Regions from separate parts of the Homo sapiens genome. Here regions 1 and 2 are each linked to region 3. Evidence: promoter capture Hi-C in human tissues and cell types (Jung and others, 2019). All regions are on one chromosome and are shown on one strand. The core of a region is centred on a gene start or on the middle of the fragment in contact, and the rest is flanking DNA. Distances in the headings are between cores, read along the strand shown. Region 1 overlaps USP54 (ubiquitin specific peptidase 54). Region 2 has its middle 13 kb from the start of USP54. Region 3 holds the start of SEC24C (SEC24 homolog C, COPII component).

The links. Contacts are between HindIII fragments. The study calls those that stand out against the background at their distance.
Region 1: a contact is called between a fragment that was not itself captured here and the fragment with the promoter of SEC24C in region 3, in 2 of the 25 tissues and cell types used here (IMR-90 fibroblasts and bladder).
Region 2: a contact is called between a fragment that was not itself captured here and the fragment with the promoter of SEC24C in region 3, in 2 of the 25 tissues and cell types used here (hippocampus and mesenchymal stem cells).

Annotation. Positions count from the first base shown.
Region 1 is chr10:73,579,579-73,583,255 of GRCh38, reverse strand. All of the region lies in intron 1 of USP54 (ubiquitin specific peptidase 54), which reads left to right. Among named protein-coding and RNA genes, the nearest start is that of USP54, 9.9 kb to the left of the region's middle. The HindIII fragment of the contact is 5,223 bases long and covers 1-3,677 here.
Region 2 is chr10:73,602,363-73,605,903 of GRCh38, reverse strand. It overlaps a transcript of USP54 not described here. Among named protein-coding and RNA genes, the nearest start is that of USP54, 13 kb to the right of the region's middle. The HindIII fragment of the contact is 5,507 bases long and covers 1-3,541 here.
Region 3 is chr10:73,742,266-73,745,957 of GRCh38, reverse strand. It overlaps SEC24C (SEC24 homolog C, COPII component), which reads right to left and starts at 1,586. Exons shown (of 23, transcript NM_198597.3): 1 at 1,521-1,586. It overlaps LOC124902453 (a long non-coding RNA gene), which reads left to right and starts at 1,693. Exons shown (of 2, transcript XR_007062195.1): 1 at 1,693-1,741; 2 at 2,747-2,994. RefSeq lists enhancers at 1,071-1,637, 1,538-1,967, 1,638-2,205, 1,045-2,244. The HindIII fragment of the contact is 12,749 bases long and covers 1-3,692 here.

The sequences.
Region 1 (3,677 bases), core at 459-2,958, 160 kb after region 3:
CACAAGCTGCATTGTTCTTTTTCTGTTCCAGGATCCTATCTGGAATCTCACATTGCATTTTAGGTGTTTTTCTTCCTTACTCTTCTGTATTCTGTAAAAGTTTCTTAGTCTTTCTTTGTCTTTTATAACCTTGACATTTTTGTAGAGTATTGATCAATATCAGTTTGAGGGCTATTTGTCAAATATTCCTTAATTTGGATTTGTCTGATATTTTTCTGATGATTGGACTGAGATTATGGTTTAGGCAAGAATACCACAGAAATAATTGTGTCCTTTTCAGTGCATCATATCATGGCATTCATGATGTCAATATGTATTATTACTGGTTATTTTGACCTTGATCACTTGGTTAAGGTAGTTTCTGCTGGGTTTCTCCATTGTGAAACTACTATATTTTCCTTTGTAGTTAATAAATGCCTTAGTGGAGATACTTTGATACTGTCATTTTTATTAATGTCATGGAGTTCTCTACACATGCAATTAATAGTGTCTCCTTAAAGACTTTATTGAACTTTAGTTACTGTGAAGTCAATTAGCTTAAAGAGTCCATCTCCTTGGATGGGCGCAGTGGTTCACGCCTGTGCCACCGCATGGTTCACAACTTTGGGAGGCCGAGGTGGGTGGATCACTTGAGGCCAGGAGTTCAAGACCAGCCTGGCCAACATGGCGAAACTCTGTCTCTACTAAAAGTACAAAAATAGCCAGGCATGGTGGCGCATGCCTGTAATCCCAGCTACTCGGGAGGCTGAGGTAGGAGAATTGCTTGAACCCGGGAGGTGGAGGTGGCTGTTGCAGTGAGCCAAGATCGCATCACTGCACTCCAGCCTGGGTGACAGAGCGAGACTCTGTCTCAAAAAAAAAAAAAAGTCCTTCTCCTTAGAAACTTCCCACACTTTACACCTGGTTTTATCAAAGGGTTCCCAGGCTTTGCACGAACAAATTCTATCTAGTCTTCATTGATTTCAGTTCCATTCTAGCTCTGCTCATAATGAATCTCTTATGCTAATAACCTGTAGCTCTCTGGGCCTCATTTACCCCTCTGTCTCTTAGGGCGCCAGGCTCCTCCTGGCCCAGTGTCCTTCCAGGCCTCATCTCCCTTTATGCACAAGCCAGTTCCTTTGAATGACTGCTTTGGGTTTTTTCCGAAACAGGCTGAGAGAAGCTGACTTTGTTGGTGAAGAATACAGTGGGGGATAATTAGGGTGGCTGCAGCTGGAGCCTGGTTTATTACTTTGGCCTGAGAAAAATGGTAGCACATTAAGCTGTACTGTGTATACTTGTGAAAGAATCATTCTCTGTATTTCACTAATACAGAGAAAGTGTTTTTTTCTAAAGGTCACCAGCTTCTAGAGGTATGTCTTTAATTCTGGCAACCTTAATCTGTAATGATCTTTTCAATTTAGCCCTGTTGACTGTGGAGTTACTTGCTGTGAGCACAAGAATCCAAAATCCAAATGTGGACCAAATATTATATTTAGATCTATTTAGTTCAAACAAATTTTATACAGTGAATAACATTAGATGTTTCTTTGATTAATAAAATACAAATTTATTAGTATTACTGAATTCAAAGTAGCTTTTTGAATTATGTATTTTCTCAAGTGACATATACTATAAAAGCCCCATTTATGTAATGTGGATGGGGCAGACTTAGATTCTCTGACACTTGAAGCTTATGCAATTCAGAGGGCCTCCTTTAAGGAAAATATTTTTTGAAACAGAAAATGAGATATTGGGCCTTGAGAATCTGTGCAAGAGAAAGAGTCCTGAAGCTTAAGTTTCAGTGGCTTGGTAAATCTGCCTCTGGATGTGAGGCACTGCAAAAAGGTTGAGACCCACTGTTTTCCATCATTTCATACATGGAAAGGTTTTTGGCTTACCCACAGGAGGCTAGTGTTTTCAGATTGGGAACAGTGGGACATATAACTTAGTAACTGTGTTACACAAGGAAATACGTAATAAGATGACATGCTTCCATCCCAATTTTGGCTTTTACTTTCCTAGAAGTTTACCATGTTGCCCACGCTCACCTCGAACTCCAGGCCTCAAGTGATCCACCAGCCTTGTCCTCCCATTCTGGGATTTTAGGCATGAGCTACCATGCCCAGCCCAATTTTTTATTTCTTTATGGTAAAATACCTAGGAGTAGGATTGGTAGGTAAAAGTATGGCAAAAGTGCAGCCATGTTTTGCTTAACAACAGGGATGTGTTCTGAGAAATGTGGTGTTAGGTGGTTTTGTCATTGTGTGAATATCATTTAAGTGTATTTGCATAAACCTAGATGGTATAGCCTACTACACACCTAGACTATACGATATAGCCTACTGCTGCTATGCTACAAACCTGTATAGGATGTTACTGTACTAAATATAATAGATGCCAGGCACGGTGGCTCACACCTGTAATCCCAGCACTTTGGGAGGCTGAGGCGGGAGGATCACCTGAAGTCAGGAGTTGGAGACCAGCATGGTCAACATGGTGAAACACCATCTCTACTAAATACAAAAATACAAAAAATAGCTGAGCGTGATGGTGCGTGCCTGTAATCCCAGCTACTCGGGAGGCTGAGGCAGGAAAATCGCTTGAGCCCGGGAGGCAGAGGTTGCAGTGAGCCAAGATCACACCATTGCGCTCCAGCCTGGGCAAGAAGAGCGAAACTCCATCTCAAAAATAAATAAATAAATAAATAAAATAAGCAATTGTAACACAATAGTAATAGATGTGCACCTAAACATATCTAAACATAGAAAAGTTACAGTAAAAATAAGGTAAGTCCCATAATCCCATAATTTTATGGGACTACCATTGTATATGCGGTCTCTTCTTGACTGAAACATTGTTATACAGCTCATGACTATATATTTAAGTTTAGAAGTAACTGCCAAGTGTGTCATTTTGCATTTCTTTTTCTTTTTCTTTCTTTTTTTTTTTTTTTTTGAAATGGGGTCTTTCTCTGTTGCCTAGGTTGGAGTGCAGTGGCTTGATCTCGGCTCACTGCAATGTCCACCTCCTGGTTTCAAGCAATTCTCCTGCCTCAATGCCCCCTAGGAGCTGGGATTATAGGTGCCTGCCATTGGCTAATTTTTGTATTTTTAGTAGAGACAGGGTTTCACCATGTTGGCCAGGCTGGTCTTGAACTCCTGATCCAAGGTGATCCACCCGCCTCAGCCTCCCAAAGTGCTGGGATTACAGGCGTGAACTACTGCACCTGGCCTGTTTTGCATTTCCATAAACAATGTAGGAGAGTTCCAGTTGCTCTGATTCCTCATCGGCACTTGTTATTGTCAGGTTTAAAAAGTTTTTTTGTTTTTGTTTTTAACTATTCTAATAGGTGTATAGTGTAGTTTTAATTTCCATTTCCCTCATGGCTAATAATGTTGAACATCTTTCCATGTGCTTATTTACCATTTGTATATCTTGTTTGGTGAAATGTTCAAATCTTTTGCCCATTAAACAAAATTGGGTAGTTTTTTTTTGTTGTTGTTGTTGTTGTTTTTTTGAGATGGAGTCTTGCCGTGTCATCCAGGCTGGAGTGCAGTGGTGCAATCCCAGCTTACTGCAACCTCCACCTCCCGGGTTCAAGCGATTCTCCTGCCTCAGCCTCCCAAGTAGCTGAGATTACAGATGTCTGCCACCACACCCAGCTAATTTTTTTGTAATTTTAATAGAGATGGGGT
Region 2 (3,541 bases), core at 468-2,967, 140 kb after region 3:
ACCTGCCCACCCTGTTTCATCTCATAAAACTGAGACTCCAAATCCATTAAACACCCCCCGATTCCTCCTTCCCCAAAGTGCCTAGCCACCACCATCCAACTTTCTGTTTCAATGAATTTGACTATTCTTCATGCCTCATATAATGGAGTCATTGGTATTTGTCCTGTTGTGACTGGCTTATTTCACGTAGTATAATGTCCTCAAGTTCATCTGTGTTGTAGCATGTATCAGATTTTCCTTCCTTTTTAAGGCTGAATCAGTTCTATGTATGTACCACATTTTGCTTACCTGTTCTCTTAGGTGGCTCCTACCTGTTGTCTATTGTCAATAATGTTGCTATGAACATGGGTATACAATTATCTCTTTATTTATTTTTTGAGACAGAGTCTTGCTCTGTTGCCCAGGCTGGAATGCAGTGGCACAATCATGGCTCACTGCAGTATCGATATTCTGGGCTCAAGTGATCCTTTCACCTCAGCTTCCCAAGTAGCTGAGACTACAGGCACACACCACCACATCCAACTAATTAAAAAAAAAATTGGCTAGGTGCAGTGGCTCACACCTGTAATCCCAGCACTTTGGGAGGCCAAGGTGGGCGGATCATGAGGTCAGGAGATGGAGACCATCCTGCCTAACATGGTAAAACCCCGTCTCTACTAAAAATACAAAAAATTAGCCAGGCATGGTGGCGGGGGCCTGTAGTCCCAGTGAGAGGTGAAGCCAGCTGGACCTCCTGGGTCGAGTGGGGACTTGGAGAACTTTTCTGTCTAGCTAGAGGATTGTAAACACAGCAATCAGTGCTCTGTGTCTAGCTAAAGGATTGTAAATGCACCAATCAGCACTCCGTGTCTAGCTAAAGGATTGTAAATGCATCATTCAGCACTCTGTAAAAATGGACCAATCAGTACTCTGTAAAATGGACCGATCAGCAGGACGTGGGTGGGGACAAATATGGGAATAAAAGCTGTCCACCCCAGCTAGCAGCGGCAACCCGCTTGGGTCACCTTCCACACTGTGGAAGCTTTGTTCTTTTGCTCTTCAAAATAAATCTTGCTGCTGCTCACTCTTTGGGTCTGTGCCACCTTTAAGAGCTGTAACACTCATCGTGAAGATCTGCGGCTTCGTTCTTGAAGTCAGCGAGACCAAGAACCCACTGGAAGGAACCAACTCTGGACACACCAGCTGCTTGGGAGGCTGAGGCAGGAGAATGGCGTGAATCAGGGAGGCGGAGCTTGCAGTGAGCCAAGATTGCACCACTGCACTCCAGCCTCGGCAACAATGCGAGACTCTGTCTCAAAAAAAAAAAAAAAATTTGTGGAGATGGAGTCTCACTATGTTGCCCAGCCTTGTCTCAAACTCATGAGATCAAGCAATCCTGCCTCAGCCTCCCAAAATACTGGGATTACGTGTGTGAGCCAATGTGCCTGGCAAGTTATCTCTTTGAGAGCATACTTTCAGTTCTTTTGGATATGTAACCAAAAGTAGAATTGCTGGATCATATGTCATTTTATTTTAATTTTGAAGAACTATCATACTAATTTTCATACTGGCTATACCATTTGACATTCTTACCAATGTGCACAAGGATACCAATTTCTCCACGTTCTTGCCAACACTGTTTTTTTTGTTTTGTGTGTGGTTTTGTTTTGTTTTTTTGAGATGGACTCTCGCTCTGTCGCCCAGGCTGGAGTCAGTGGTGCGATCTCGGCTCACTGCAACCTCTGCCTCCTGGGTTCAAGCGATTCTCCTGCCTCAGCCTCCTGAGTAGCTGGGACTACAGGTGTGCACCACCACACACGGCTAATTTTTGTATTTTTAGTACAGACAGGGTTTCACCACATTGGCCAGGCTGGTCTCGAACTCCTGACCTCATGATCTGCCCCCTTCGTCCTTCCAAAGTGCTGGGATTACAGGTGTGAGCCACTGTGCCTGGCCACCTTTTTTTTTAATAGTAGCCATCCTAATAAGTGTGAGGTGATATCTCACTGTGGTTTTGATTTATTTTCCCTAATGATTAGTGAACTTGAGTGTCTTTTCCTGTGTTCATTGGCCATTGGTGTATCTTCTTTGGAGAAATGTCTGTTCAAGTTCTTTATTTTTTAATTGTATTTTGTTGTTGTTGACTTGTAGTTTTTTTTTTTGTTGTTTTTGTTTTTGAGACAGGGTCTCACTCTGTCACCCAGGCTGGAGTTGAGTGGTGTGATCTCGGCTCACTGCCACCTCTGCCTCCCGGGTTAAAGTGCTTCTCCTGCCTCAGCTTCCCAAGCAGCTGGCATTACAGGTGTGCGCCACCACGCCTGATTAACTTTTTTGCATTTTTAGTAGAGACAGGGCTTAATAGAGACAGGTTTAGTAGAGATGGGGTTTCGCCATGTTGGCCAAGCTGGTCTCAAACTCCTGGCCTCAAATGATCTGCCCGCCTTGGCCACCCAAAGTGCTGGCATTACAGATGTGAGCCACTGCACATGGCAGGAGGTCTTTATATATTGTGGATATTAGCCCCTTATCAGAATAATGATTTACAAATATTTTCTCCCATCTCATGGGTTGTCCTTTCTCTTTTCCTTTGATTCACAGTTCTGTTTTTTAAAAATTTTATTATATATTTTCTAAGACATTTAAAAGAATAACACAGTAAACATCTTTATAATCGCCATCCAGCAAATTAAATATTAGTAAATTGGTTTGCTCCCGAGTTTCCCCTTATTGATTACAAGTCCCTCACCAAAGGTAACCACTAATGAATTTGATTTTTCTCTGACATAGTTTATACTCCTTAGACAGCCTGTTAGCGTATTAGAAGCTTGTGATGACTGAAGTAAAAATACTGCAAAGGTCCTGGGGAAGGCTAATTAGGGTGGGATGAGTTCTTTCTTAGATTTTTGTGATGCTGTTTTCAAAAGCCCAGTTCAGCACCCTATCAGAGATACTTGCACATAATAGGTGTATAGAAATGTTTGTTGAATAACTATTTGGAACCCATGTACTTCTGATTGAAGATATTTTGTACCACTATTATACTATTTTTTTTTTTTTTTTTTTTTTTTTGAGACAGAGTCTTGCTCTGTCGCCCAGGCTGGAGTGCAGTGGTGCGATCTCAGCTCACTGCAACCTCCACCTCCTGAGTTCAAGCAGTTCTCCTGTCTCAGTCTCCCAAGTAGCTGGGACTACAGGCGCACACCACCACGCCTGGCTAATTTTTGTATTTTTATTAGAGACAGGTTTTCACCTTGGTCAGGCTGGCCTTGAACTCCTGACCTCAGGTGATCCACCCGCCTTGGCCTCCCAAAGTTCTGGGATTATAGGCATGAGCCACAGTGCCTGGCCACTATTATACTATTTTTTTTTTTTGAATCAGAGTCTTGCTCTGTTACCCAGGCTGGAGTGCAGTAGCATGATCTCAGCTTACTGCAAGCTCTGCCTCCTGGGTTCACGCCATTCTCCTGCCTCAGCCTCCTGAGTAGCTGGGACTACAGATGCCCGCCACCACGCCCGGCTAATTTTTTTATAATTTTAGTAGAGATGGGGTTTCACAGTGTTA
Region 3 (3,692 bases), core at 337-2,836:
GATCTCCTGACCTCGTGATCCACCCACCTTGGCCTCCCAAAGTGCTGGGATCACAGGTGTGAGCCACCACGCCCGGCCAAAACCGAAGCATTAAAATCAATAAAAGTTGGCCAGGCACAGTGGCTCATGCCTGTAATCCCAGCACTTTGGAAGGCCAAGTCGGGCAGATCACTTGAGGTCAGGAGTTCATGACCAGCCTGGCCAACACGGTGAAACCCAGTCTCTACTAAAAATACAAAAACTAGCCGGGCATGGTGGCACACGCCTGTAATCCCAGCTACTTGGGAGGCTGAGGCAGGAGAAATCGCTTGAACCCGGGAGGCGGAGATTGCAATAAGCCGAGATCGTGCCACTGCACTCCAGCCTGAGCAATAGAGCAAGACGCCCTTTCAAAAAAATAAAAAATAAAGGACACCTGAAAACTCTAGCAAGGTAACAGATTAAAACCAAGTGCAGAACAGGCACCAAAACTTCTTCACATAATCTGAGGAAACAGTTCAAGAATCAGGGGCAAAGTTAGAGTTAGATTTCATGGAAAAAAATCATTCACCTCATCCCTCAAGCAGAAGACTATGAATATTCTAAATTCCAATGCACTTCTCCAACTCTCCTGTTTCTGCTCCCCTTACGATTGTTATGAATCTCAGCCACCATCAAAATTATTACAATCTTGCTCATCAACACAGGGATGAATTAGAGGGCCTTTTCTAAACAGGGTCCTTCCAAGAAAACTATCTCATCACATCTACTTTCAACAGCTGTATCATTCCAATTATCCTGTAGACAGAAGGGGCCCAGAAAGCAGGAGCACTCAGAGTTGCTGCAAAGGGAACAATGGACCTCTCCCCCTTTGCTAGAAGGGCCACCTTGACTATAGAAAAGGAGCTGATCCTGGTCTAAAACTCTTTAAACTCAAAGTTATCTCAATAGCTGTTCTTCCAAACCCTAAACCTTACAGAGGTAGGTCACTGACACTAAGTTTAAAATATGTCCTCTCCCTTTATGTTTCCAAAGCCGGGGGGAGGGGTAAAGAAAGGAGCTTCTTCTCCAGAAAATAATCCCCTCAAACACATTCAAGAGCTTGGAGTCAGACTGAAGTCTCGACTCCATTCTGGGTGGATAGTCGAGGGTGACAACCCAAGGGGGCGGGGCAAGCTTCCTAGAACTCTGAAAGTAGTCAAGCCATGGAGCCTCGGAGAGCCGAGGATCAAAACCGAGAAGCCAAGTCGGCTTCTAGGGCCACGTTAAGAGAGGGGGCTGCTCTGTTAAGCACAGAGACCAAACGTCTTGCACCTTTTAACAGGCTCGGGGCAGGAAGCAGGAGCCGGAATCTGGGCCGGGAGACGAAGGGATGGTCTAGGACCTGCTCCTGGATGGTGGATGCGTGAGGTGAGGGTCTCTACCCAGGCCCCGCCCCCAGGCTCCTCCCTTCTTTCTGAAACCGGACCCCAATCTGGCCAGTAATACCCTGACCTCTCCTTTGCTTTCCTACCCGCCAACCTCCCGATGCCACTCCTCACCCGGCTCCAGATCCAGGTTAGACTTCGTTCCTAACGTCAAGGCTCCCAGGCTCCACTTCCGGTTCCGAGGGGGCCGTCCCGTCACCCCCGGAAGTTCCTCCTCCACGCTTTAGGGCCGGGCCACTTCTTCTGCCACGTCTGCATTTCGGGGACCCGGATGCCGCGCATGCGCCTCTTTCATCTTCCCATCATGGCCGCCGCCTGTGCGCCTCTGCTGAGTCGTATGTATTTCCCTCCTGACATTTTTTTTCAGATGTTCCAGTCACTTTATGGCCTCACCAACAGAAATGAGATTAAAAAGAATTTGTCAAACTATCTTTAATAATGCCCCTTCACTCTGCCTGTGACGTATTAGTGACCTCTGAGCTAGAGTCTTGTAGTCACTTCCTGGTGACCCCTGACCCCGTTGATTTCCGTCCGCTAGGTTGCTCTCACCCATGGCGTTTGCTGGTTATGAGATTTGCGGAACGTGTGGTGGTGGTAAAGGGCACCAACTGTTGTCAACCTGCATGTGGGGGTCTGAGGTCTGGCTCTACAGCTTGTAAAATGGAAATAATAATGCCCAGAGGATGAAATTAGGCCACATAGGCCGCTTGGCATCATAGTAAGCACTCAGTAAAGGTCAATTGTTATTAACCATTTTTATACAGCGCCTTTGTTTAGGTGCAGAGCTTTATCAGAGCCAAAAGATCTCTGCGCTCTGTTGGAAAAGATAGTTCCTGCAGTAATTATTAGTACCCCATTTAATGGCTAAGTAATTATAGCTAACAGTGCTAGGATTTCTTTTTCATATATGACTTCATTTGAACTTTTCAGTACTATTTGTTGATTTCATAATTTTTCGAGCACTGCTGTTGAAACTGCCTTTGCAAAATTACAACTGAGGAAATTATGATAGTGGAAGAAATCAGACTTAACCGACTCCATCTTGCTTCTAACCTTTAAGCTGTCCTTATTCATTCCTGGGTGTAGGTGGAACTAACTTTGGGGAGGAATTCAGTTTATGGTTTGAAACAAAATTGATAATAGCCCCTTCCCGAAAAGACCCCCTTCTTGCCTGGGGACCAGTCTGTCTTTACAGGACTAACAAATTAGCTACAAGATTACAAATTACAGTTTAGGGGACATGCAGCCTCTCGCTCCAAGAGTCTGAACCTCCCCAAATTGCTTTTAGGAATAACATAACTATTGTAAAACCTAAGATTAGTGCTTGAGATGTTTTGCAGACCCTGCACTCATTGGATCAGCTGACTACCTAGACCAGTAACCTGGCTCAATCAGTTCTGCCATTCCACCCAGGAACAGAAAACAGCAAGAAAACCTCACTTTGACTCCCTGTGATTCCGTCTTCAACCTGACCAATCAGCACTCCCCGCTTCCCAAGCTCCTACTCGCCAAATTATCTTTAAGAACTCTGATCCTCAAATGCTCAGGGAGACTAATTTGTGTAATAATAAAACTCTGGTCTCCCACACAGCTGGCTCTGCGTGAATTACTCTTTCTCCATTGCAATTCCCTGGTCTTGATAAATCAGCTTTGTCAAGGCAGCAGGCAGGGTGAACCCACTGAGCGCTGACATTGTGTGCCAAGCCATGTTCTTGGGTCTGGAAATAGAGCAGTGAACAAAAGTGTTTGTTCTCATATTATTGACAGTAAATATCAGTTATTCTGAGGCACAGAGTGGTTTATTCACTGAAAAATTTGCACTTTAGGCTGTGCTGGAAACTATATATTAGGCATTGAGCATGCTTTACTAAACAAGCAGATTGTTCTTGTCCTCTGTTTTGTTTTGTGACAGTCTTGCTCTGTCTCCAGGCCGGAGTGCAGTGGCCCAATCTTGGCTCACTGCAACTTCCGCCTCCTGGTTTCAAGCGATTCTTATGCCTCAGACTCCCGAGTAGCTGGGATTACAGGCATGCGCCACCACCCCAGCTAATCTTTGTATGTTTGGTATAGACAGGGTTTCACTATATTGGCCAGGATGGTCTTGATCTCCTGACGTTGTGATCCGCCCCCCTTGGCCTCCCAAAGTGCTGGGATTACAGGTGTGAGCCACTGCGCCCAGCCTGTTTTGTTTTAGAGACGATTTTGCTATGTTGCTCAGGCTGGGCTCAAGTGGTCCTCCTACCTCAGTAGGAGTAGCTGGGTAGTTGAGTAGCTAGGGCTACAGGT